7 separate regions of the Homo sapiens genome follow, and regions 1, 2, 3, 5, 6 and 7 are each linked to region 4. Evidence: promoter capture Hi-C in 16 types of primary human blood cells and fetal thymus (Javierre and others, 2016). All regions are on one chromosome and are shown on one strand. Each heading gives the region's core, a stretch centred on a gene start or on the middle of the fragment in contact. The rest is flanking DNA. Distances are from core to core; before and after follow the strand shown.

Region 1 (3,313 bases), core at 233-2,732, 310 kb after region 4:
TGACAAATGGTCAGGATTATCACTTTTGCTTGCAGCAAACCTCTAGAGAAAATATGATCTTATCAATCAAATATTGAGGTCTGGCTTTAAATCTATGAATTCCTGGGGCCAGCATTACAAGAGGAGGTCCCTGAGGTTAACTAGCCTTCTCAAGGGTCCACCAAGGTTAGCTCAGTGAGGGCAGGACCATATCCAGTATCTTTACCAGAGAAAGTACTTTAGTATCAGGCTGGGAACATCATAGGCACTAAATAAAGAATAAACTTAAAAGGTGTTTACTATACTTGGCTGTTGAGAACAAGAATAATTTCAGAGGCATGCTAAGGTAGAAATTTGGTCACAATGTAAGTCACAAGTTGACTCTGAAATGAACTGGAAACAGCAAGTGAAACTATTCTACAAACCTAGTTACAGAAAGAACAGAGCCGTGAGAATGGGGATGCAATTTCAAGGGAAGTATTTTTGTTTGTTTTCACATGAGAAAGACTGGAGTGCAATTTTAAAGGGAGAAGCAAGTATATGATCCCTTTCATGAGCCCCTATTGTATTGTTAGTTGTTCAGTTCATTATTCATGCAACAATTTTTTATTGAGGACCAACTATATGCGAGGAACTGGTTTCAATTCTAGGAATACTTAGATGAACAAAATGTAATCTCAAGGTGAGTGTGTTCCCCCATCTTGAGTCTTAAACAAACTTCCTAGATTTCTTGAAGGAAACTCCCCGAGCTCCTTGGAATCCAGCCAGGGTTTGTCTACACTCTGCCTGAGAACACGCCATGAAGCCTTGCACTAGGGTCACCCAGCCTGTCACCCCTGTAAACTGGGTCATCCTCCAGGATGGAGCCTCTCTTGCCTTTGCATCCCCAGAGCCTGGCAGAGTATGAGGCAGGGGAGAGGAGGAGGAAATCTAGTGAATAGGCCACCTCCATACAGAAATGCTTGTTTTTAACCTTAGCAGGCTGTTTACATGCTAAGCATCTTGCCCAAAGTCACAGAGGTCAGGCCCAGGTAAGACTGGGAGAAGGGACCCAATCTCTTGAGGGTGATTTTAGTACCTGATTACATGCATTACAGTGACAACAGAGCACTGAACTCTCTACATATTTAGAACTAATATATATACTACAGAAACTTGTCTCAATGAATTGTGATGGGCTGTCACCACTGACTGAAATCTCAACTATCCCCTGAAATTCCTATGGCACTTTATGTTTTAGAAATACGTTTTAGAAACCCACTCCTGCCCTAGAGGCCATACAGACACAAGCTTGCTCAGGAGGGTGGACCCAGGAAGTAATCTTTCTTTCTCTATCCTGACAACTACACCAGGAAGTGGTTAAGCCCTCACATTGTTGTTTCTCTCTCTTTAGAATCAGGATTCAGAATAAGCAATTTCCTTTTTCATTTTCCCATTTCTCTCCAACACACCCTGAAGGCCTGCAGAGCAATGATGAGCTCACACTGCCCCCTCCTGCCCATTCCCTCCCTAACAAGGAATATATTCATTATTCCCTGGCCCTCATTTGCTCCCATTCCTGTAAAGAAAGAAAAGCAACAGAATGCCCCCACAAAAGTCAAATGTCTTTATTTTATATAAAAAAAATTTGTACAGTTTTAGTTCCTATGTTTAAGAAAAAAATCCTAAAATTGCCGTAATGTTTAGATCCACTGCAAACTGTAGAAACAAGCTTTTTATATATTAAAAAAAATTTACATTTTACAATTTTCTACATGCATGCACAAGGTCTCAGCTCTGTAACCCCACCCCCCCAAAAAAAAGGAAAAAAAATCTAGATCCAACAGTGGAAAATTCTACATTTACAATCTCACTTGGAAGGGACTCAAAAAGCCCTCTTCCTTTTGCGCACGGAAGAACAAATCACAACAATCACACACCAGGACTGAATCCATCAGCAGATACTGCCCTGTGGGAAGGGCAGAGGAAAGAGAAGACAGACGGACTGACAGACACCACAGAGGAACAGGGGAGTTAGCCTGGGACCAATGGAGGAGAAGTACGAACCCTGGGAAAAAGACGTGTCAGATGAGAAAGTTCCGGAGAGTCCGATGTCTCATCGCAGGTGTTACATCATCAGGGTTTGCCATTGGAATACTGAGTGGAGATGGGAAAGAGAAAAGTTAAGGGCTGAAATGGGAGGGGAATGGGAAGAAAAAATGAGAGACAAGAGGGAAATAAGAAAAAACAAAGAGAGCACAAAGACCAGTTTAGGAGAAAGGACCAATGGGGACAGTGGCAGAGTGGCGAGGTAGGTGAAGGACTGAGGCACAGCGTCCTGTTGTGGAGGGAGGAAAGGCAAGCGTTCCGAGGTGGTGAAAAGGAAGGCCTGCTAGGCACGGTGGGGATGAACGAGGATGCCATGAGTCACACAAAAGACAGTGCTGGTGAGGCCCAGCCACAGCAGCCCTATGGTGTCAAGGGGGTAAGAGGTGGGCATACCCCCACAGCAGGAGAATGAGCAGATCCAGCGCATGATGGGACAGACACAGTGGGGAAACTGCTCAGAGGGACTGAGTCAGCTGCACACCCCACAGCAGTTCACAGCATGGAGACAACTTCCCACAGGGGAGAAGCAGAGGACAAACACATGGCCATATGTCTGACAATTCATCCTGACATTTTAAAAAACAATAGTAATAATAATAATAATAATAATAATAATAATGAAAAAAGACAAAGATACCACAGTTCTGAAGCAAAAGACCAAAATGCTACCATTCTCAGGCACAGCCCTTAGTGCTTAGAGAGTTGGAGGCAAAAAATTTTTTTTAGGAAAGGGGAATGAAAAAAAAATCACAGTGATTAAAAACATGGCAGGATCTTAAAATAAACACTCCCCAGCCCCTAACCTAGGGCAGCAACTAAGATCCCAAATCCTTTCCCTCTCCCCCACCCCAACCTGCTCCTCAGACCACACCACACTCCATCCTGTCCACAAAGGCAATGACCCCAGTCACCATCCAGGCCCTGTTTTCCAGGATAGTGAGGTATTTATGTGACTCAGAAGGGACTCTCTGACACAAAGTTTTTGAAGAGAAGAAAAGAGACAGACCCCCAGAACAGGACATATTTCATACAGGCCTATCTCATAACCCTGGCCCCAGCCAGAGGCCCTGCCTAAGTGAGCTCCACAACCCACCCCTTTGGGGACAAGGTAAGCATTGGCCAATGAGCTCCTCTCTAGCATGCGGTGGGTAAACAAGTGAACTTTTGCAGAAAGGACAGCAGGAGAAACCCCGATCACTAGGCTCCATCATTCCCAGGGCTGGTGCTACACAGAGGGGGAGCCTCC
Region 2 (3,383 bases), core at 650-3,149, 390 kb before region 4:
TTCTTCTACCTTAGCCTCCCAAGTAGCTGGGATCACAGGTGCATGCCACCACGCCAGGCTAATTTTTATATTTTGCATAGAGATGGGGTTTCACCATGTTGTCCAAGCTGATCTCAAACTCCTGGGCTCAAGTGTTCCTCCCACCTTGGCCTCTCAAAGTGCAGGGATTACAGACGGGAGCCACTGCACCTGTCCTATAGGATGTTTCTAAATATCCCTGGCTTCTACTCATTACATGCTGATGGCAGTCCCCTTCCCCACCAGGCATAATAATCAGAAATGTCTCCAGACATTGCCACATATTCCCCAGGGGTCAAATTTGCCCCTGGTTCAGAACCACTGACCTAAAAGCTATTATAATTCCTAGTACATTGATGATCTAGCCTGGGATCTAGGACTTAAAGGTGGCTAGTGTGTTTGTTTCCTCTCAAATGTAGGGAGTTAACTTCAAAGGATTGAAGCTTATAGAATTACATCCATTGATACATAATTAGGACCACAGTGCTTTCCTGTATTTTGCCTTATTTTCCATTGCGAGGGTATGTGGGGACAGTGTTTCTTCATTTCCTGGGGTTTAAGCACACTTTAAATTAGGGAACTGTGGAGCAACCAGCTCTTCTGGTTGGTTTAATGTGAAACCTACCCAATCTGCTTTATCTGAGAGCCTCACAATCAACAGCTGGCCCAAGGGAACAGGTGGGATAGGGAACAAAGAGAAGTTGCAGGGGCTCTGAGGAGGCTCAGTTTTCTCATGTTGCCTGCTATGAGCAATAACTTATTTTCCTTTAGCACCTTCATTTGTACCCAGTAACAGCAACAGGTGAATCGAGAGGAAGAGGCAAGGAATACCAGTCTATAGTTGAATAGCTATTTCCCATGCTTTGGGTGGGGCATCTGGGCTCTCAAAACTATATATGGATTACATTTCCTGTCTACATATCAGAACCCATGGTATAGGGTTAAGTGATCCCAGAGTGTACCTCCCCTTTTCTTAAGGGAATGAGTTTCTCTGTGCTTTCATTTTAGTTTTTCATCTGAGGAAGAAAGGACCAGTTCCTACTTACTCTTCAGCTTTCTCTATCAGCTTTGTTTTTCCAAAGAAGCTTATTATTTTATTGTTTCCTAGTCTAGCCTCAGTTCCTTTTTGTATAAAATGGACAGAGCAACCTGTTTAATTGTTGAGTAGGGTAGAGTGGTGTGGTATGGTGTGGGTAGTTCTGGACATTGCAGAGGAGGCTATGGCTAGTTAGAATATATGCATGGTAACTGAATTACCTGTATCTGTTTTTAATGGGGTCCTCTCTTGGACTTTTGTGAATTTGTTTCTTAATTGGAATTGCTTGAGGTGATCTCTTGGAGATTAAGTTCAGTTCAACAGTGGGTTGCTCCCACTATATTTGAGGCTCTGTCCATTACTAGGCACTAGGGATATAAAGATGAATATATCTCTCCATGAGTTGAGTAGGATCTAATGGGATAATAAATACACAAATAATTTTAGTACATGGTGATAAATGGTGTAAAGGAGATATGCATAGTGTTCCATAAGCGCACAGAAGAGGACTACTTATCTCTGCATGGGGGTGTAGAAAATGCATTTTGAAGATGGCATCTGAGCTGACTCTTAAAGAATGAGTAGGAGTTAGCCATCTGAAAAAGAGTGATGATGGGGGTGTGGAATAGAGAAGGGAGAGGGGCATTCAGGCAAAGAGAAGAGCCTGAAGAAGGTATAGAGAAATTGCATGATGTATGTGAACTATAAACAAACTGATAATGTTAGAGAATAAAAAGCGGATGTGATGGGAAATGAGGTTGGGAAGGTAGGCCTGATCTTAGAAGGCTTGATGTGTGTGTAAAGAATTTGGAGTGTTCGGCCAGGCGTGGTGGCTCACACCTGTAATCTCAGCACTTTCGGAGGCCGAGGCAGGCGGATCACAAGGTCAGGAGTTCGAGACCAGTCTGGCCAATATGGTGAAACCCCGTCTCTACTAAAAATACAAAAAGTAGCTGGGCGTGGTGGTGGGTGCCTGTAGTCCCAGCTACTCGGGAAGCTGAGGCAGGAGAATCGCTTGAACCTGGGAGGCGGAGGTTGCAGTGAGCCAAGATCGCGCCACTGCACTGCAGCCTGGGCGACAGAGTGACTCTGTCTCAAAAAAAAAAAAAAAAAAAAGAGTTTGGAGTGTTCTTATAGATAACGATGGGGCAATCAATGGGTCTGAAGCAGGAAAGTGACTTGGTCAGTTGTGGACTTCAGACAGCTAACTGAACTAGATGTGGCAGTGGATGGATTTAGGTAGGTTAAGATTGGTGTTGCAGAGAACTTTTAAAGTTACAGTAGTCCAGGTGAGAGATTATTGTAATCTGAACCATGGCAGTGGAGGTGGAAAGGTAGGATAGATTTAAGAAATATCTAGAAGTAGCATTAACAGGAATTTAGGATTGATTGTGTGATTGGAGAGTGTGACCAGAGAGTGCACAGTATAGGATGGTACTGTCTGGTGGAGCAGTAAGTATGAGTGACTTGAGTCAAAGTTGTTGAATTTGGGAATTGATTAATGGCTGCGTCATTGGTATTACCTGTAGCCCATAACGATGGAGGAACTTTGTGAATCAAGAGCCAAACTATATAACGAATGTGGAGCTGTGATTGGTCATTGATAGGGGATTGGTAAATGACATCCATGAGGAAAGCTTAGAAGGTGGTATTGCCAAGGCCAGGTACGGTGGCTCACGCCTGTAATCCCAGCACTTTGGGAGGCCGAGGTGGGTGGATCACCTGAGGTCAGGAGTTCAAGACCAGCCTGACCATCATGGTAAAAACCCATCTCTACTAAAAATACAAAAATTAGCAAGACGTGGTGGTGCGTGCCTGTAATCCCAGCTACTTGGGAGGCTGAGGCACGAGAATTGCTTGAACCTGGGAGGCGGAGGTTGCAGTGAGCCGAGATTGCACCACTGCACTCCAGCCTGGGTGACAAAGTGAGACTCCATCTCAAAAAAAAAAAGTTGATATTGCCAAATAGGGTGAAGATCAAGGGAGTACAAATGGCATAGAATTACAAGAATGCTTATTGTAGAAACTTAATGTTTATTTTAAATCCATGAGTTTTGGTAAATATTGATAAACTTTCTGAGCAGTTATCATTTCTTGATGTGGTTGGATTGTAGGAAAAATGTGGAGGGATGATTCTGGGCTGCAAAGGCCAAGGATGCTTGTATCTTTGAAATGTTTCACAACCATTTATATAAGGGTTACCCGTGATTTTCTCATTGGATTCTTAACAACTCTGAGGTGTATATTCATTCATCCCTGTTTATAGATGACAGCACTGAGAATCTGGAGTTAAGTGACTTGCTTACGGTCACACAGCTACACAGCCTTT
Region 3 (3,269 bases), core at 565-3,064, 290 kb after region 4:
GAAGTTAAGAGATAATACTGATTACACTGTAGTGTTTTCATGATACTACATCTGTAAAATAACCACATAGAAAAAATAAACGGAGGAGAGAACAAGTACATAAAGTTAATCATCAATTGTTCTCAAAAGTGAACAGGGGACAGTGATTACCCCACTGGAAAAAGCCACGGAAAACTGATACATAACAAAGATAGCAATGCGTATCAGTAGGAAAACAATGGATTTTTAAAAATAAATCACACTGGAACAACTAGACCTCCTCCCACTACCTGACGCCATACACAAAACTCAATTCTAAGAGTATGAAAGACCTCAATGTAAGAGACAAAAATACAAAGATTTTAAAAGGCAATATAGGAGAATATCTTCATGATCTTGGCATAAAAAAGGATTTCTTAAACAAGACATAAAAAGCACTAATCATACACATACATTAAATTTTTAAAAATCCTTTTACTTAAAGAAACCATAAAGAAAGTAAAAACCAAGCCACAACTGGGAGCAGATATTTACAGTATATGTAACTGACAAAGGACTAATATCCAGAAACATGTAATGAATTCCTGTGAACACACACACACACACACACACACACACACACAGAGAGAGAGAGAGAGGGAGACACATGAACAGCATTTCCCAAAGGGCAAAGAGGAAATCCAAATGATCACTGAAGATACGTAAAATTGTTCACCCTCTTTAATAATCCAGGAAATGTACATTAAAATCACAGCGAAGGATCACTACACACCCCTAGATGACAAACACATTAAAATTAATAACGCCAAGTGTAAGAGAGGATGTGGAGCAATGGAAACTTGGTACCTGCTGGGTGCAGAGTCATTTAGTGTAAATGGTTTAGCTTTGTCTTCCACTCAGTAAATCTACCCATAAATATGTACACTAGACTTGGAGGGATTTCTGCCATCTGCACCGGGAGACACATGTAGGAATGTTCACGGGAGTGTTGTGCTAATTAGCTAAAACCCAGAAACAACCAAAATGCTCTTCAACAGTAGAATGAATAAGTACACTGTGATTTATTCACAGAACGGAATATCATACAACAACAATAAAAACTATAGGCCAGGCGCAGTCGTTCACACCTGTAATCCTAGCACTTTAGGAGGCCAAGGTAGGCGGATCACGAGGTCAAGAGATCAAGACCATCCTGGCCAATATGGTGAAACCTCGTGTCTACTAAAAATACGAAAATTAGCTGGGCGTGGTGGCATGTGCCTGTAGTCCCAGCTACTTGGGAGGCTGAGGCAGGAGAATCATTTGAAGGCAGAGGTTGCAGTGAGCCGAGATAGTGCCACTGCACTCCAGCCTGGCAATAAAGCAAGACTCCATCTCAAAAAAAAAAACAAAAACAAAAAAACAAACAAAAAAAACCCTATAAATGCATACCCACAGCTTAGCTCCCACTTAAAAGTGAGAACATGCAGTATTTGGTTTTCTGTTCCTGAGTTACCTCGCTTAGGATAGTGGCCTCCAATTCCATCCAAGTTTTTTCAAAATACATTACTTCATTCTTTTTTATGGCTGAGTAGTATTCCGTGGCATGTATATACACCATTTTCTTTATCCACTCATTGGTTGATGGGCACTTGGGTTGATTCCTTATCTTTGCAATCATGAATTGTGTTGCAATAAACATACATGTGTAAGTGTCTTTATTAATATGACTTATTTTCCTTCCTACTGGGTAGACACCCAGTAGCGGAATTGCTGGATCCAAGTGTAGATCTAGTTTAGTTGTTTAAAATATCTCTAGATCTGATAAATGAATTCATCAAATCTTAAGGTTACAAAAATTAATGTATACAAGTCAATAACACTGCTATACACCAACACAACCAAGCTGAGAATCATATCAGGAGCTCAATCCTATTTACAATAGCTAGCAAAAAAAAATACCTAGGAATATACTTAACCAACAAGGAGAACCACAAAACACTGCTGAAAGAAATCATAGATGACACAAACAAACATCTCATGCTCATGGATTGGAAATCTAAGAGAGTGGTGTAATGGACATTGGAGACTCACAAAGGGGGAAGTTGGGATGAGAATAAGGGATGAAAAATTATCTATTGGGTACAATGTACACTAATTTGGGTGATGGATACACTGAAAGCCCAGACTTCACCACTCTACAATTCATCCATGTAACTAAAAAGCACTGGTACCCCCAAAGCTATTGAAATAAAAATCAATTAATTAATTAAAACTATAAATGCATGCATCAGTCTGGAAAATCTCATAAACCTAATATTGAATGAAAAAAGCAACTTGAAAAAGAACACTTGCAGTATAACCCATTTATATAAAGACATAAACAAGCAAAACTAACTATATTCTGTAAGGATGCCAACACAGTTGTTAAACTACAAAGAAAAGAAATGATTATCACAAAAGTCAGCATAGTATTATCTACAGAGGGCAAGGAGGAGGAGGAGGGGCACATAGAGGGCAATGCTCTACTCTTTAAACTGTGTGCTGCTTATATTAGGGTTTGCTTAACTTTAAACTAGTTCATTAAACCAGGATATAGTAGTTCATTAAATAGGTTCATTAAATATGAATGAATTGGCTGGGCATGGTGGCTCATGCCTGTAATCCCAGCACTTTGGGAGGCCAAGGCGGGTGGATCACTTAAGGTCAGGAGTTTGAGACCAGCCTGGCCAACATGGTGAAACCCTCTCTCTACTAAAAATACAAAAATTAGCCAGACATGGCAGCGCATGCCTGTAATTCCAGCTACTCGGGAGGCAGAGGCACAAGAATCGCTTTAACCCAGGAGATGGAGGTTGCAGTGAGCTGAGATCACATACTGCACTCCAGCCTGGGTGACAGAGCAAGACTCCTTCTCAAAAAAAAAAAAAAAAATATATATATATATATATGTGTGTGTGTGTGTATATATATATATATGCATATGAATGAATTAATATAGTTCATTAAAATACAATATGGTATATTAAATCATGAAGTTGCTATTGTTACGTGCCAAATCTGAGCAAATATTGACAATTTCACATGCATGGTTCAACAAAAACTGAATGTGTGTGTTCATCCAATATAGTCTGTGTATGACATATTTCACAATAAAAGAATGAAAAAAGCAAGAAACAATCACTGGATAAAAGTCAGGAAACCCAGGTTCTAAGGTAACGAATTGGATTCTAACCTGAGTTATAATACCACACAGGTGCCCTTTACCCTAGATTCCACTTGTTAGTGGTTAAACACTGGACTCTGCAGAT
Region 4 (3,306 bases), core at 1-2,500:
GGTACACTACACAGGCTGCCTCTGGAGGAGGGCAGAGGGGGACCTGCATGGCAGTTTTTCATACTTGTGCTCTTTCGCTGACTGATTTCAGATGGACACCTGTAGCTTTCAAAGTCTCTATAATTTTCCCCAACCCCTCCACCTTATCTCCCTCAAGTTCTATTTCTGCTCATCATTTCCGTTCAGGGAGTTTTTTTTTTGTTTTTTTTTTTTAAAGTGAGGGCCTATTCCAGAACCACCTGGTTAGACCCAGGTACCTCTCAAAAATACAAACTTCTGATGAATTCAAAGTGGGTAAGAGTCTGCTGATGCTGACCACTTAGCGATGCAGGGGAAAATATTGGGGGCACCAGCTGCCTGCGTGGTCTTGGGCAGATCACTCCAGGCAGGCTCAGATACACATAATGAAGCAGTTATGTGAAGTCCTTATAGGGGGACCTCATGGTAGTACTCCATGAGATTGATGACAGAAGAGATATTTCTCACTTATAGGGCTCCTGATCCTTTCTGAGAGCCCTTAGGATAGAAAAATCTTCAAAGACTAGAATACCAGTGACAGGTGGAGAACTGTCCTCTGTCCTCCATGGGATTAAACATAAAGTGCCTATGGTATGAGTTGGTTCTCTAAGTAGAGACTGATTACATTGCTTGAGTAAGGAAAGAAAATTCAAGTGATTCTTTCCATTTATATTACTGTTATGCATAACCAATTTTATAAATACATTTATAAGTAAATAAATACATACCTGTATAGTATCATCTTGTTCTTAAAGTTGCCCTCAAAAGGAGAGAAGGCTAGAAGATAAAGTTTCTGAGGCCCAGGAAAACTTTAACATTCCTTATCTAACTCATGGCAGAACCTGGATTAGAAAAATGGTCTCTGATACCCAGCACCACTTCTTTCAGCTCCTTCATCCCTGGGACAGTCAACAGGGGAGTCAGTTCCCAGAGCCATTTTTCCCCCTCTCTCTAGTCTCTTCCTGACCTGAGAATCAGAGATCAGAGATTGATAAAAAGCAAATGTTAGATGAGAACACAGAGCCTCCCGAGTTGAGCCAGAGGCCCAGAGTGGAACAAGAAACCTGGAACTATTCAGGATGGGGTAGACAGGAGAGTGGAAGAGAATCCGGCCGGACTCACCTGTGAGCTGCCAAAGGATATAGATGAGGGTGAGGCATGTTGGGGAACCAGCCATATTGCTCTCTGGAAGTCAGCCACTGAAATGAAGCCACTTCCCTCTTAGGTATTACTCAGACCTCTTCCCCAGCTGATATTTAAAGAAGCAGGAGGGGTCACGCCGCAGACATGTGAGATTGAGTAATTGCTAAATTATTTTCAGAGTGAATAGAGCATTTTACCTTGCCACCAGCAATCTATGAGAGATCTATTTGCTCCCCATCTTCATCAGCATTTGGTATATTCCCATTTTATATTTTAGCTGTTTTAATAGGTGCTGTAGTGATACCTCATTGTGGCTTTAATTTGCATTTCCCTAAAGCCTAATAATGTTGAACATCTTTTCATGTGCTTATTTGCCATCTATATATCCATATCCTCCTTGGTGAAATGTCTATTTATGTCTTTTGTCCATTTTATAATCAGATTCTTTATTTTTTTTACTGTTGAGCTTTGACAATTCCTTATATGTTCCAAGTATAAGAGTCATTTGTCAGATATGTGGTTTACAAATATTTTCTCTTGGTCTGTAGCCTGTCTTTTCATCTTCTTAACGGGGTCTTTGGCAGAGCAAAAATTTTAATTTTGATGAAATTCAACTTATCAGTTTTTTTTCTACCCACACTAGGGTCCAAAGGTTTTCTCCTGAAAGTTTTATAGTTTTATGTTTTACATTTAAATGTATGATCCTGTTTTAATGTAAGGTGTGAAGTTTAGGTTGAGATTCACCTAAATATATTGTCTATATTCATTGAGAACCATATCAGGTAATATGGTTGACAGTTTTTTTTTGCTTTCGACACTTGAAAAGTGTCATGACACTCCTCCCCTCCATGGTTTCCAGTGAGAAATCAGCCATCATTTAAATTGTTTTCCCTATAGGTAATGTGTCATTTTTCTCTAGCTGTTTTAAAAGTTTTTTGTTTGCCTTTGGTTTTCAGAAGTATGATTACAATGTGCGTGTTTTTTTTTCTTCTGCCTGTGGGTGTTCAATTGTTCTACTACCATGTGATGGAAAAGATGATCTTTCCTACATTGAATTACTTTTGTATCTTTATCAAAAATCAGCACTTATACTTGTGTGGGTATATTCTGGAGCTATCTATTCTATTTAACTGACTTACATAATGTAATTATTTATATATCAGAGCTTAAGTTTGCCATGTTATTATTTTCTCTTTGTTCTTCTGGGCTTTTGTTTGTTTATTTTGTTCCTCTGTTTCACTTTCCTGGCCATCCTGTGTGTTACTGGAATATTTTTTATAATTCCATTTTGATTTATCTATAATGTATCTTTTTGAAGAGTTTTTTTACTGGTTGCTGTACATATTGCATTTTACATACATAACTTTTGATCTACCTATCAGTGTTGACATTTTACCAGTTGAACTAGGTATAGAAAACTTACCTATATTAGGTTTCTTTATTAGTCTATCTTTATACTTGTCTTAAATATATTGTCTATATTCATTGAGAACCATATCGGTAAGATTATAAGTTTTGCTTCAATTGTTGAACATAATTCAGAACACTCAAGAGGAGAAGGACAATCCATTACATTTACCCATATTTTAACTCTTTTCATTGTTATTTCTTTATTTCTAATGTTTCAAGTTTCCTTCTTTTTATTTTTTTTTGGACGAAGTCTTGCTCTGTCATACAGGCTGGAGTGTAGTGGCATGATCTTGGCTCACTGCAATCTCCGCCTCCTGGGTTCAAGCGATTCTCCTGCCTCAGCCTCCTGAGTAGCTGGGACTACAGGCTCATGCCACCATGCCCACCTACTTTTTGTACTTTTAGTAGAGATCAGGTTTCGCCATGTTGGCCAGGCTAGTCTCAAACTCCTGACCTCAGGTGATCCACCAACTTTGGCCTCCCAAAGTGCTGGGATTACAGGTATGAGCCACCACACCCAGCCTTCAAGTTTTCTTCTTTAATCATTTCTTTCTGTTTCAAGATATTCTTTAGGAATTCTTTTATGATAAGCCTGCTGATAACAAATTATCTTAGTTTTCCTTCACCTGAGAATGTCTTGATTTAACCCTCATTCCTGGGTATAAAATTCTAGGTTGACAGTTTTTTTTCTTTCAACACTTGAAAAGTGTCATGACACTCCTCCCCTCCATGGTT
Region 5 (3,194 bases), core at 500-2,999, 340 kb after region 4:
CAGGCACTCATTCACCTTGTGCCTATCATGTGCAGGCACTGGGCCGCACTGGGGCTCCTGGCAGTGACCACGACCAGGTGTATGAGGGAGTGGCAGGAGAGCTGGGGAAGGGTTAAGGGAAGTAGGGAGGACATGGGTGTCCCCAGCCCTGCCCCAAAGCACACCCCAGTGCTAGGCAGCTAGTGTGTAATTTGACACAGAGTCGGGGCTGCCGTGGCACTGTCTTGACTCTCAGGCAGATTTAGTGTGAATTATCTTCACATGCTGCTAGCCTGTTTCACAGACCCCAAAATGGCCCAAAGAACTGGAAAAAGGGCTTCTGATGCCAGAATTACAGATAATTCCATAGTCTGGCCCCACTGAAAGCTTGAAACCTAAGTCAGGATGTTAACAGACAAGGCTTCCCAATTAACAGGTATCAGGCATCAGGCTAGAATAAGCTTAGTCCCTCCTTTCTCTGACGGTGAGGTTGGGGGCTTTCAATTACATCTCTGCAATGAAAACACTGGATTACAGAGTCCAACAAAAAATTTTATTGGTGTGGTCTGTCCCATTCAGCAATTCTCTGTATTACCTTCTACCTTCACCTCAGGATAGAATCCCATCTGGATTTCACACGTCCCCAAGTCACTGAGTAAGCAAACAGAGACCCAGCTAGAAGGCCCATGTGCCCTATGGTCTAAGGGACCTAGCTTAATTCTTTAGAAGGAAGGAGAGCACTGAAATGACATTCAACTGAGATTTTCCTAAAGGGGCCAACCTACAATAACAGAGGGAGGCCAAGAGCCTGAGGGACAATAGAATGGAACAGATTGGATTTTGTACAGCTCCTGTCCTTGAGGACATAGTCGAATTTCTTAATTTCTTCAAGCCTCAATTTCTGCTTATATAAAAAGGGTCTAATGAGGTAACAGAAGGAACACCCTCCATATACTCATAGTGCCACAGTCAATTCCCAGTCGAGTTTCCCCTCTCTGTTCTGTGCCTAGGATACTTCTCTTAGGAGAGAACACTTCTCTAGGACACTTCTTTCAGTACTCTTCCTCGGGGAAGGAGGCCCCTAGCTAAAAGCCAGGGCCCTCCATTAAAGCCCTTTCAACACCTCACCAGCTCACTAGGTGGAGGTGGGGCTGGTGGGGTCAGATCAGAGGCTTCCCAGGAGCCCTGGGAGTTGGACCCTCCTGGGGAAGATTCAAGGAACTCAAGAAGTGACAGTAGACTCTCTCTGAGGGAAGGTCCAGACTATAGAGAAGCACCTACCTACTTCCTGTGTGGATGAAGCTGTCCCTGGAGGTCAGGCCCAGACCACAGTAGCAAAAGTTAGGTTTTCTGCTCTGATGAAAAGTAGGGCCTTTTTACAATGCTGCTCAGAGAAAGGGAATCCTTGGTACCTTACTCATAGAAGCTTCACACTATAGCAGAATGGCCATCAAAGTGTTTCCATGTAAGCAATTAGCAATTTTAGCCACCTCCCAGGTACAGGTGACTGCAGTAATGTACCCACATGCAGGGCCACAATCACCATCTACTTCCAGCCCTGCTGATGAGCCTGGGTACAAGTTGATCTCCCGGAATAGTTACAGATCTTTCCCCAGCACCCACCTTCCCAGAAAGGCTACTCTCAATGCTCACAAAAGGATTTCCAGACCCAGTCTATATTGGGAAATACCTGGGTTCTGGGTGTGAGGGGTTTCCCCCTTCACTTTTAGTTAAAAAAAAAAAAAAAAAAGAATAAAAGTAGCTCACACACAAAAAAACTTAACTGGTCAAGAACTGTATTATGTCATAGGCTTGTGGTGAAGTGTCTGTCATGTGAGATCCTGATCTCTAAGAAGAAGGACCATGCCTCATTCATTTCTATATCTCTGGCACATAAAATTCAATAAGTTAGCATTAGCTGCCTTCCCTTCTAGCTTCCTTCTCTTTCTCCCTTCCTCATCTATGAAACCTTGACCACTCCCTATTCATCCAACCTTTATTAAGTGTGAGTTTCCTCAAATCCAATCCCATTATCATTAATCTAAAATGTTACCTGCAATTAAACCAGTGGTTGTGAACTTTGACTGCAGATTTTAATCACCTGGGAAGCTTTGAAAACACATCAATGCCCAGGACCATCCCAGACTAATTAAACCAGAAACTTCTGAGGTGTGACCCAGCTATTGGCATTTTTTTTAAGATACCTCAGTGATTTTAATGTGAGAACCACTGAATGAAACTTTCTGATTTCCTTCCTCCTTCTTGGGAAGAATAGACACTCTCCAGCTCCCTTGGCTGGGACTAGGCCCTGCAGGTGTGCGTTATATCCTGTCCTTTCCCACCTCCATCCATTATTCACAATCTCTCCTGTAACCAACTTCGGCCTCTTCACTGATCTTTGCCCAGCAGACATAATAAAATGAAATACCTTCCTCCACTCAGCAGCCTCCTCTTGCTTTAGCCTTCGCTTTTATTTCTTTCTCATCCAACCTTCTTAAAAGAGTAGATTCTTAGGCCAGGCCTGGTGGCTCACACCTGTAATCCCAGCACTTTGGGAGGCTGAGGCGGGTGGATCACCTGAGGTCGAGAATTAGAGACCAGCCTGACCAACATGGAGAAACCCCGTCTCTACTGAAAATACAAAATTAGCCGGTCATGGTGGCAGGTGCTTGTAATCCCAGCTACTCGGGAGGCTGAGGCAGGAGAATCGCTTGAACCCAGGAGGAGGAGGTTGCGGTGAGCCGAGTTCGTGCCATTGCACGCCAGCCTGGGCAACAAGAGTGAAACTCCATCTCAAAAAAAAAAAAAAAAAAAAAAAATGGATAGATTCTTTACTATCTCTCTTCCTCCCTTCACTCCTCAGCTCCTTGCACCCCAGCCATCCTTCCAATGTGTTTTCTACTCCTGACTTCAAATACTATTATTTCCCAGAATTCAGCCTTTGGCCCCCTTACTCCCCACTCCACATGCTTTTCCAAAGCAATGTCATTCACTCCTGTGGCTTCAGTCAGTACTCACTTATGAGTGCTGCTAAATCCAGGTCTATCTTGTGAGCATAAGACTCAAATTTTCAACTTCCTACCATACATTTTAACTTGGATATTCCTTGGGTATCTTAAATGTAATAGGTTTAAAAGGAACAACATTATCTTCCTTCCACCTCTATCCCCTTGGCTTATTCAGACCTTTATCATTTCCAAACATGTCTCATTCCC
Region 6 (3,436 bases), core at 446-2,945, 390 kb after region 4:
ACCTGGTTCCGTACAGACTCATTTTTCTGAGAAACAGGATCTGTGTGCATCCAAAGCTCTAATGAAGTTCTTAAGGCCACCTGGGGGGAGGATGAAGAAACAACACTTAGAATCAGTCTCCTGTTCTGGGCCATGCCTAGGGGATAGAAGTCAAGGGAAGAGGCGGTGGTTCCTGCAGTTAAGACCGCAGAACAACAAAGGAGGAAGATTTAATTAAAAAGGAAGGGGCTGGGGGACATGCCACATACCTGTCCCAGCTCCACAAATGAGTCAACATTCTCTAACTGCACGGGAAACTTGCCCTTCTCCATATCGTAGACCATCCTCGAGCTGCCAATGTAGTCAAAAGTTTCCTGAGAGATGGAGGTAGGTGGGAGGGGGAACAGAGATTCCAAAGGGTTAGGAGAGCCTCGAAGGCGGCCAGATCATCAAAGCTGTAGGTAAGACGACTATCTCAGGTCACCTCAACTGCTAGTCAGCTTACAGTCATGTGACTTTCGGCTTCTCTTGGCCCCACCTCCCAGCTGTGACTATCCCTCATATGTATTACAAGACTTCTGAAGCCCAGAAATGGGGAAAGTAGCCTTAGTAAAGGTCTAAGATGAACATCAGCTATTATGTGTCTGATTCTTAACGGTCCCCCACCTCCAGTGACTCAGCCACAGATGCTGTTCCCTTATTCTGCTGTGGTCCTAGTGATGAGAGTCAGGAGCCTAACGGCTCCTGGATGGAGATAGCAGTAAAGGAGTCCAGAGAATAAAAGTAAAAGGCCGCCTCCAATATATCTTATCAGTGGGGGAAAGAGGGGGCTGGTTACATACCAATTCAGGGTGTAAAAGCTTCCTAAAAAGAAGGAATCTAAGCTTCCTAAAATGGAGGAATCTAAAGGGGAGACACATGTAGACACATCCAGAAGCTCTGTGCTGGTTAACAACTTAGGTCAAGTGCTGAGGTCTTCTCCAACCAGTAGCCACTCTCATCTTTACTATCCTCTTTCTTCCCTGCCATTGCACCCCAGCCAAAGAGCCCTTACCCCTTGAAAGAAGACAAACATGACATTGCGGGGCAGGGTGGTCACATCAGGTGCCTTTTGCAAAGCTTCAGCAGCAGCCAGCTGGGTGACAAAGGAAGCCACTGCGCTTTCAGCCCCTGGGGCCACATTCCAGAAAAAGGAACGACTATCCAGCTAGGTACAACAGAAGAAAAGTCAGGGGATATATACTTTAAAACTGGCCCCAAACCTCCTTTCTTGCTCCAGTCAAGAGAATATACCTGTCCTGTGGCAATGGAGACAACCCAGGAGTCCCACAGCCCAGATTCCTCCCCATTTGAGGCTTCCCAATTTAGCAACTTTGAAATCTGATATGCTAGAGCGGGGCCTACCAGCTCTTTTTGTGCCAGCCCTGCCCATCCTGATCAGAAGCCAACACTCACCCGGGTGGCAGCAACCACAACCCTGTCGTCAGGCTTTAATGTCCCAGTTGTATTTATAGGCTTTAGCATGCTCCACACATTGTAATCAGACAGGGGGTCACAGACGATTTCTAAGCAGGACACAAACAATGAGAGATCAACAAGGCTAAAGGAGAAGGTAGCTATAAAGGCAACATTGGAAATCTCTGACCAGTGCCCCACGGACTCTAAGTCGTTTTCTCTACTTCCAACAGTCCGAGGTTGGCTTCTCTGCCACTATCCACTTTAGGAACAAGCTGCCTAAATTTTTCAGAATTGTTTCTAGTTCTCCCATGCAGAGCTCCTTCATGGTGTCTACTCCTTCCCTATTACAGTCTCTCTAACATTCCCTGGCCTGGTTCCACTCTCCCTCTGCCCCTTATTCCATTACCCTCATGGTTCGGATCTGCCCTACCTGGGTTGATGCTGAAGGTGCTTTGGATGGAGCTGCGCCGCATGCAGGTGGCAGTGCTGATGACAGCATGCATGTGTGAAAAGAGCTGCATGGCACATAGTGGGAAGGTTGGTGCTGAGCCATTCTGACTCAGGTTGTGATCTTGATAGCACTGAAAGGGGAGATGGACCCCACTGAGACAGCTAGTTTGTGGAGGCCCTCCCTTACATCCCAGAAGGAGGAGGGCCCAGTTCCATCCTTTTGGGATGGAGCCACACCCTTTTCGGAGACATTTATCCCTGAGCTATAGTTATCCTAGAACCACCATAGGATCTATAAGGTCAAAGAAAAAAACTCATCAAGAGTTACAAAGGGTTGCAGACTCAGTGGTTTAGCTGGAGATGAAACTATCCCATTCCAGATGGCCTGGCCCAATTTGAAGCTTCAGCCACTGAAAAGATTCAGTGTGGTCTGATACAAAGAGCACCAAACTAGAGATAGGAAATCAGATATGACACAGCTTGGAGATCAACTCACCATACAACTTTGGACAAATCTCTTAACTACTCTATGAGTCAAAATGGAAATACTAGACCAGAATTAAGGCATATTAGAGCTAAAAAGAAGCTCAGAAATTACCAAATTGAATTTCTCAATCTCTAATCCAATGCTTTTTTTTTTAACGATACTAGTGGTTCTTAACCTGGGCTGTGTACCTTGTTTCATATTACTCTTTCAGATATTCTTTATATTTTCTTCTAGTCTAAAAGGCTTTAATGCTGTAATATCAGGTAGGAGCAAAATGTGGGGAAAGAATGTGAGAAGAACTAACGTCTTGGTTCTTTTTGGAGCAACCGTCTTTCAGCAGGTGTACCAGAAGAATGAGCCACCCTCCAAATAGGAGAGCCTATAAAATAATCCTTTTTTTTTTTTTTTTTTTGTGACACAGGGCCTTGCTCTGTCACCCAGGCTGGAGTGCAATGGTGCCATCTCAGCTCACTGAAACCTCTGCCTCCCGGCCTCAAGTGATCCTCCTGTCTCAGCCTCCCGGGTGGCTGGGACTACGTGCACACACCACCACACCTGGCTAGAAAAATAATCTTCTTTCTAACTGGAATTGCTAGGAGCTGGCAGTGTCATTACCTGCTTGATGACTTTGGTTTCATTTTCATCTTCAAGAAGAAAGATGGGGAAACTAAAGTCTTCATAAGCCAAACCATTGCCCAGCGAATTCCACTGTATTTCTCTGCAGTGAGCAAACTCTGGCCCATAGGAATTGGAGTAAACACCTGAAGGGAAGGATGGGGAATAGGGGGACTGGTTACTGGGACACCAAGTACTTAGGAACCAGGTGACGGCAGAAGAATCTTTCAGTTGGGACTAAGAGTTCAAAAGGAGGTGGTGACTCAAAGAAGTAGGCATGAAGTCTATTACCATCCACACTAAAATAGAAAGACAATGGTATCAGGGAGTCTTAGGCTGTAAGATTAGGGATGTGAACACGTGACAAAAAGAGATAATGCCAGGTAAGGCAAAGGAAGGGGAAGCAGGAGAGGGAAGGGATGAGCAGCAAAGACAAATAAACACTAC
Region 7 (3,157 bases), core at 170-2,669, 350 kb before region 4:
CCCACCTCAGCCTCCCAAAGTGCTGGGATTACAGGTGTGAGCCACCATGCCCAACCCAACTTATAATTTTTAAACTACAGTGATGCAAAAATGATAGCGTGTTCGGTAGGACCCATACTTGAATTTTAAATTTTGATATTTTCTAGGGCTAGCGACTGGTATATTAAATGCATTTTCAACTTATATGTTCAGTTTGCAATGGGCTTATCAGGACATAACCCCATCATAAAAGTCAAGGAGCATTTGTATATTTTTCTGTCTTTAAGTTTCCATTTTTCTCACTGTGCCTTGAGATCTGTCTCTCACTGTTTCGACTTTTGTGTTTTTCTCTCTGGGTTACTGCCCTTTTTTTCCTGCTGACCAGAGCCAGCCATCTGACTTTCCTGCAAGGAGCTTTAGAACTTTCCAGAAGTGGCCAGACTTCTTCCCTTTGGCTGCTTTCTAGAACTATAGCACCAGTTTGGGGTCCCCGGGCACAGTCATAAGGTCTCAATTTTTGATGAAGACCTGAGTGAGCTTCAATACATAGGGCCTTTTCAGGGAGTAGAATTTCCCCACAGTGGGGTCTTAGTGTCAAAATAAAGATATTTGTCCCTTAACCCATACTGTGGTCCTGGATTTCATGGTAGTGTGTTCATGGAAACTTGCGAAGTTCATGGGTTGAGAGCAAGGAGGATGGGGCTCTGCACACAACTGGACCTACCGAGAAACGGGACCTGAACATGTCTTGCATTTAGCTGCCTCCTCCCCTGGATGGCACACTCCAGCTTTAGGGCCCTCGAGGAACAAGCAAATTCAGCCCCCTGATCTCCAAGGGTTGTTAGGCAACCAAGAAATGTGGTTATCATTAAAGGATGGGGCTGGGGGCTGGGTATTGGGGAATCGGTGGGCCTGCAGGATAGGCAAAGAACAACATAGCACATGGCAATGTTTTGATGTAATTTTCTAGAAAACAGGAGGCCACCATCCTAATATTGAGCATAGTGAAGTTCCATCAGGAGGGGAGTAAAGGTGTTTTCTAGGGGAAGAAAAGCTGCTGGAGCCCCTGTGTTCTGTATGGGGGTATGCCCATACCTCCCGGGATGGAGCAGGGGTGATCCTAGGGAGGAGCAGGAGGAGTGACTTTGAAGCCTTGGTCCTGGGGGGTGAGATCAAGGCCCATATTGGTAATCTTTCACCACGTCATCAGCTCCCCAACACCTTTCTGTACAAACTGCGGAAAGTTTGCAATGAGCAGATCAGGAATAGCTTATCACAGAGACAAAGCTGTACAGAAATGGATCACAAATATTTTATCCACTCTCATGCTTCCAACTAGTTCCACTCTGATTTATTTTTCACCCTCCTCTCTCCCTAAGCACAAGGGACTCTCCCCCAGCCTCTGACTCTTCTCTGACCTGGGACTTCACTGCAGGCAGACAGGATATTACTCACCAAGGAGCTCTCTCATCTACTCCTACCCCCAACTCATCCTCCTGCACCCCACTCTCACTCCCACCCCTTCCAACCTGGGCCCACTCCTTCCCTCCCCCACTCAATCTGACCCTCACTCTCACTCTTCTTCTCCCCCACACCACCCCACCCATCCTTGTCCCTCTCTGACTCACCTCAAGTCCCATTGACACAAACAAAAATTTCAGCACAACCCACTCCAACCGGTTTGGCTGAGGCGTGCAGCCTGTCATGGGGACAGAGACAGGTATAAGCGGATGCTTGGATGCATGCAGATCATGAAGAACATCCGCTGCTGTGCATACAGAGACAGTCCCACATATGTGCATAGCATGTATGTGTACAGAGATACGTAGGGAACACATGATGGTGGGATATAGCATGTTACAGTTGTTTCTGTGTCTGCCTCTCCTGATTGAAGGCTCCTTGAGGGCAGGGACTATGTGTTATGTGTCTCGGTCTCCTCCCTTGAGCCTGACACATAGTGGCACTCATTTAATGTCTGTTGAAGGAATGCATGGGTGCAGGCGCGCACGCAGCAATGTCACTCAGACAAACACACATGATAAAGACACTATCATGGCTTGAATTGTTCTCATTCTTAGCGACCACAATGTGGGTAGGAGGAGGGTAGGAGTGAGGCATGTGGGGAATGGGAATTCAATATGGAAGGGAGAACCGAACCAGGATACCAGGCATTGGTCTTGAAAATCTTCCTCATCCAATATTTCCTTCCAGTCTCAATCCTAGAATATGCCTTCCCCAGCCTTCATCCTAGGAGAGGGTAGGAAAGGCCTAAGTTTGAGGGCATATTCTCCAAAAGCATGGCTCTTGTGAGACATACAGGGCTGAGGGGAAGGAGGGGACAGAGGGACTTGAGATAGGTATTTGTGAAATGAGGAGAGAGATCCCTAACTCTGTCAAAGGCCTGGAGTGGGCTGCTGGACTCTAGTGCTCCCTCTCAGGCCCTGTGGTGCCCTTAGCCTACTTCAAGGCTGCATCATACCCATGAAAAAATGAGTATAGCCATACCCTAACTCCACCTCTGGACAGTTCTGCCTCCTTTCCATGCTCCGTATGGCTAGAGTTCAGGGTGAGTGATTAAGGGGCCCAACCAGGGGTTCAGAGACATCCTGACTGGTAGCACTTTCACGGGGTATACTGTGAATGGATAGGCTGAAGGAGATTGGATATCCATCTTGTGAACTAACTGCTTTTCCACTCCTGTGCCTCAGTTTCTCCTGTGGCTTCCTGTACCTGGAGGGGTGAATCCGTGGGAAGGAAAGCAGCTCCTCCGAAAGCATGCGATAGGATCCAAGGTGTGATAATTATAATTATAACACAGGATGCTCCCCCTCCCATTCCCGCTGGCCCTACTCCACCCCTGCCACAGAGGATCTCAAAGCAGCATCTGGGTGGGGCTGTTCCCCTGGCACAGGTGGGGACCTGAAAAAGAGAAGGGGTTGGAGGTGGAGAGAAACTGGGGAATTCTGGCAACCGGCCTGGCCTTTAAGGGCCTCTGACCTGCAGGAAATAGCCCCTGAAGAAGAGGTCACTGCCGTGGTCATTTGGCATCTAGAGCCAGAGTTGGGGTCATAGTCCAGTGACAGGAGTAAAGTCCAGGTCACAACCCTAGTTCAGGATAGTAACTCACAGCCAGTCGGGATCTCTGCTTTACTGATCCGACTTCACCATCCTTTTCATC

Evidence for each region. Contacts are between HindIII fragments. The CHiCAGO score rates a contact against its expected background, and 5 or more counts as called.
Region 1: a contact is called between a fragment that was not itself captured here and the fragment with the promoter of SLAMF7 in region 4, in 8 of 17 cell types (activated CD4 T cells, non-activated CD4 T cells, total CD4 T cells and 5 more). The highest score is 8.7, in activated CD4 T cells.
Region 2: a fragment that was not itself captured here is called in contact with the fragment with the promoter of SLAMF7 in region 4 in 1 of 17 cell types (total B cells); the score reaches 5.9 in total B cells.
Region 3: a fragment that was not itself captured here is called in contact with the fragment with the promoter of SLAMF7 in region 4 in 1 of 17 cell types (fetal thymus); the score reaches 5.4 in fetal thymus.
Region 5: a fragment that was not itself captured here is called in contact with the fragment with the promoter of SLAMF7 in region 4 in 4 of 17 cell types (non-activated CD4 T cells, total B cells, total CD4 T cells and 1 more); the score reaches 7.0 in non-activated CD4 T cells.
Region 6: a fragment that was not itself captured here is called in contact with the fragment with the promoter of SLAMF7 in region 4 in 1 of 17 cell types (activated CD4 T cells); the score reaches 7.0 in activated CD4 T cells.
Region 7: a fragment that was not itself captured here is called in contact with the fragment with the promoter of SLAMF7 in region 4 in 6 of 17 cell types (total B cells, naive CD8 T cells, total CD4 T cells and 3 more); the score reaches 9.0 in total B cells.

The regions. Positions count from the first base shown.
Region 1 is chr1:160,426,928-160,430,240 of GRCh38, reverse strand. VANGL2 (VANGL planar cell polarity protein 2) reads right to left here. Exons shown (of 8, transcript NM_020335.3): 8 at 1,571-3,313. Among named protein-coding and RNA genes, the nearest start is that of VANGL2, 28 kb to the right of the region's middle. RefSeq lists an enhancer at 144-373. The HindIII fragment of the contact is 421 bases long and covers 1,272-1,692 here.
Region 2 is chr1:161,125,131-161,128,513 of GRCh38, reverse strand. All of the region lies in intron 2 of DEDD (death effector domain containing), which reads left to right. It also overlaps a transcript of NIT1 not described here. Among named protein-coding and RNA genes, the nearest start is that of DEDD, 5.8 kb to the left of the region's middle. The HindIII fragment of the contact is 1,588 bases long and covers 1,106-2,693 here.
Region 3 is chr1:160,447,944-160,451,212 of GRCh38, reverse strand. No RefSeq gene overlaps it. Among named protein-coding and RNA genes, the nearest start is that of VANGL2, 49 kb to the right of the region's middle. The HindIII fragment of the contact is 4,867 bases long and covers 1-3,269 here.
Region 4 is chr1:160,737,191-160,740,496 of GRCh38, reverse strand. SLAMF7 (SLAM family member 7) reads right to left here and starts at 1,250. Exons shown (of 7, transcript NM_021181.5): 1 at 1,141-1,250. The coding sequence starts at 1,195. It overlaps LOC124904440 (a long non-coding RNA gene), which reads left to right and starts at 1,338. Exons shown (of 2, transcript XR_007066687.1): 1 at 1,338-1,414. The HindIII fragment of the contact is 11,353 bases long and covers 1-3,306 here.
Region 5 is chr1:160,395,837-160,399,030 of GRCh38, reverse strand. All of the region lies in intron 3 of LOC105371466 (a long non-coding RNA gene), which reads left to right. Among named protein-coding and RNA genes, the nearest start is that of VANGL2, 3.1 kb to the left of the region's middle. The HindIII fragment of the contact is 683 bases long and covers 1,408-2,090 here.
Region 6 is chr1:160,349,804-160,353,239 of GRCh38, reverse strand. NCSTN (nicastrin) reads right to left here. Exons shown (of 17, transcript NM_015331.3): 5 at 2,990-3,135; 6 at 1,868-2,018; 7 at 1,435-1,544; 8 at 1,034-1,186; 9 at 249-353; 10 at 3-80. Among named protein-coding and RNA genes, the nearest start is that of NCSTN, 8.1 kb to the right of the region's middle. The HindIII fragment of the contact is 1,190 bases long and covers 1,101-2,290 here.
Region 7 is chr1:161,091,189-161,094,345 of GRCh38, reverse strand. No RefSeq gene overlaps it. Among named protein-coding and RNA genes, the nearest start is that of NECTIN4, 3.2 kb to the right of the region's middle. RefSeq lists an enhancer at 1,471-1,570. The HindIII fragment of the contact is 3,929 bases long and covers 1-3,157 here.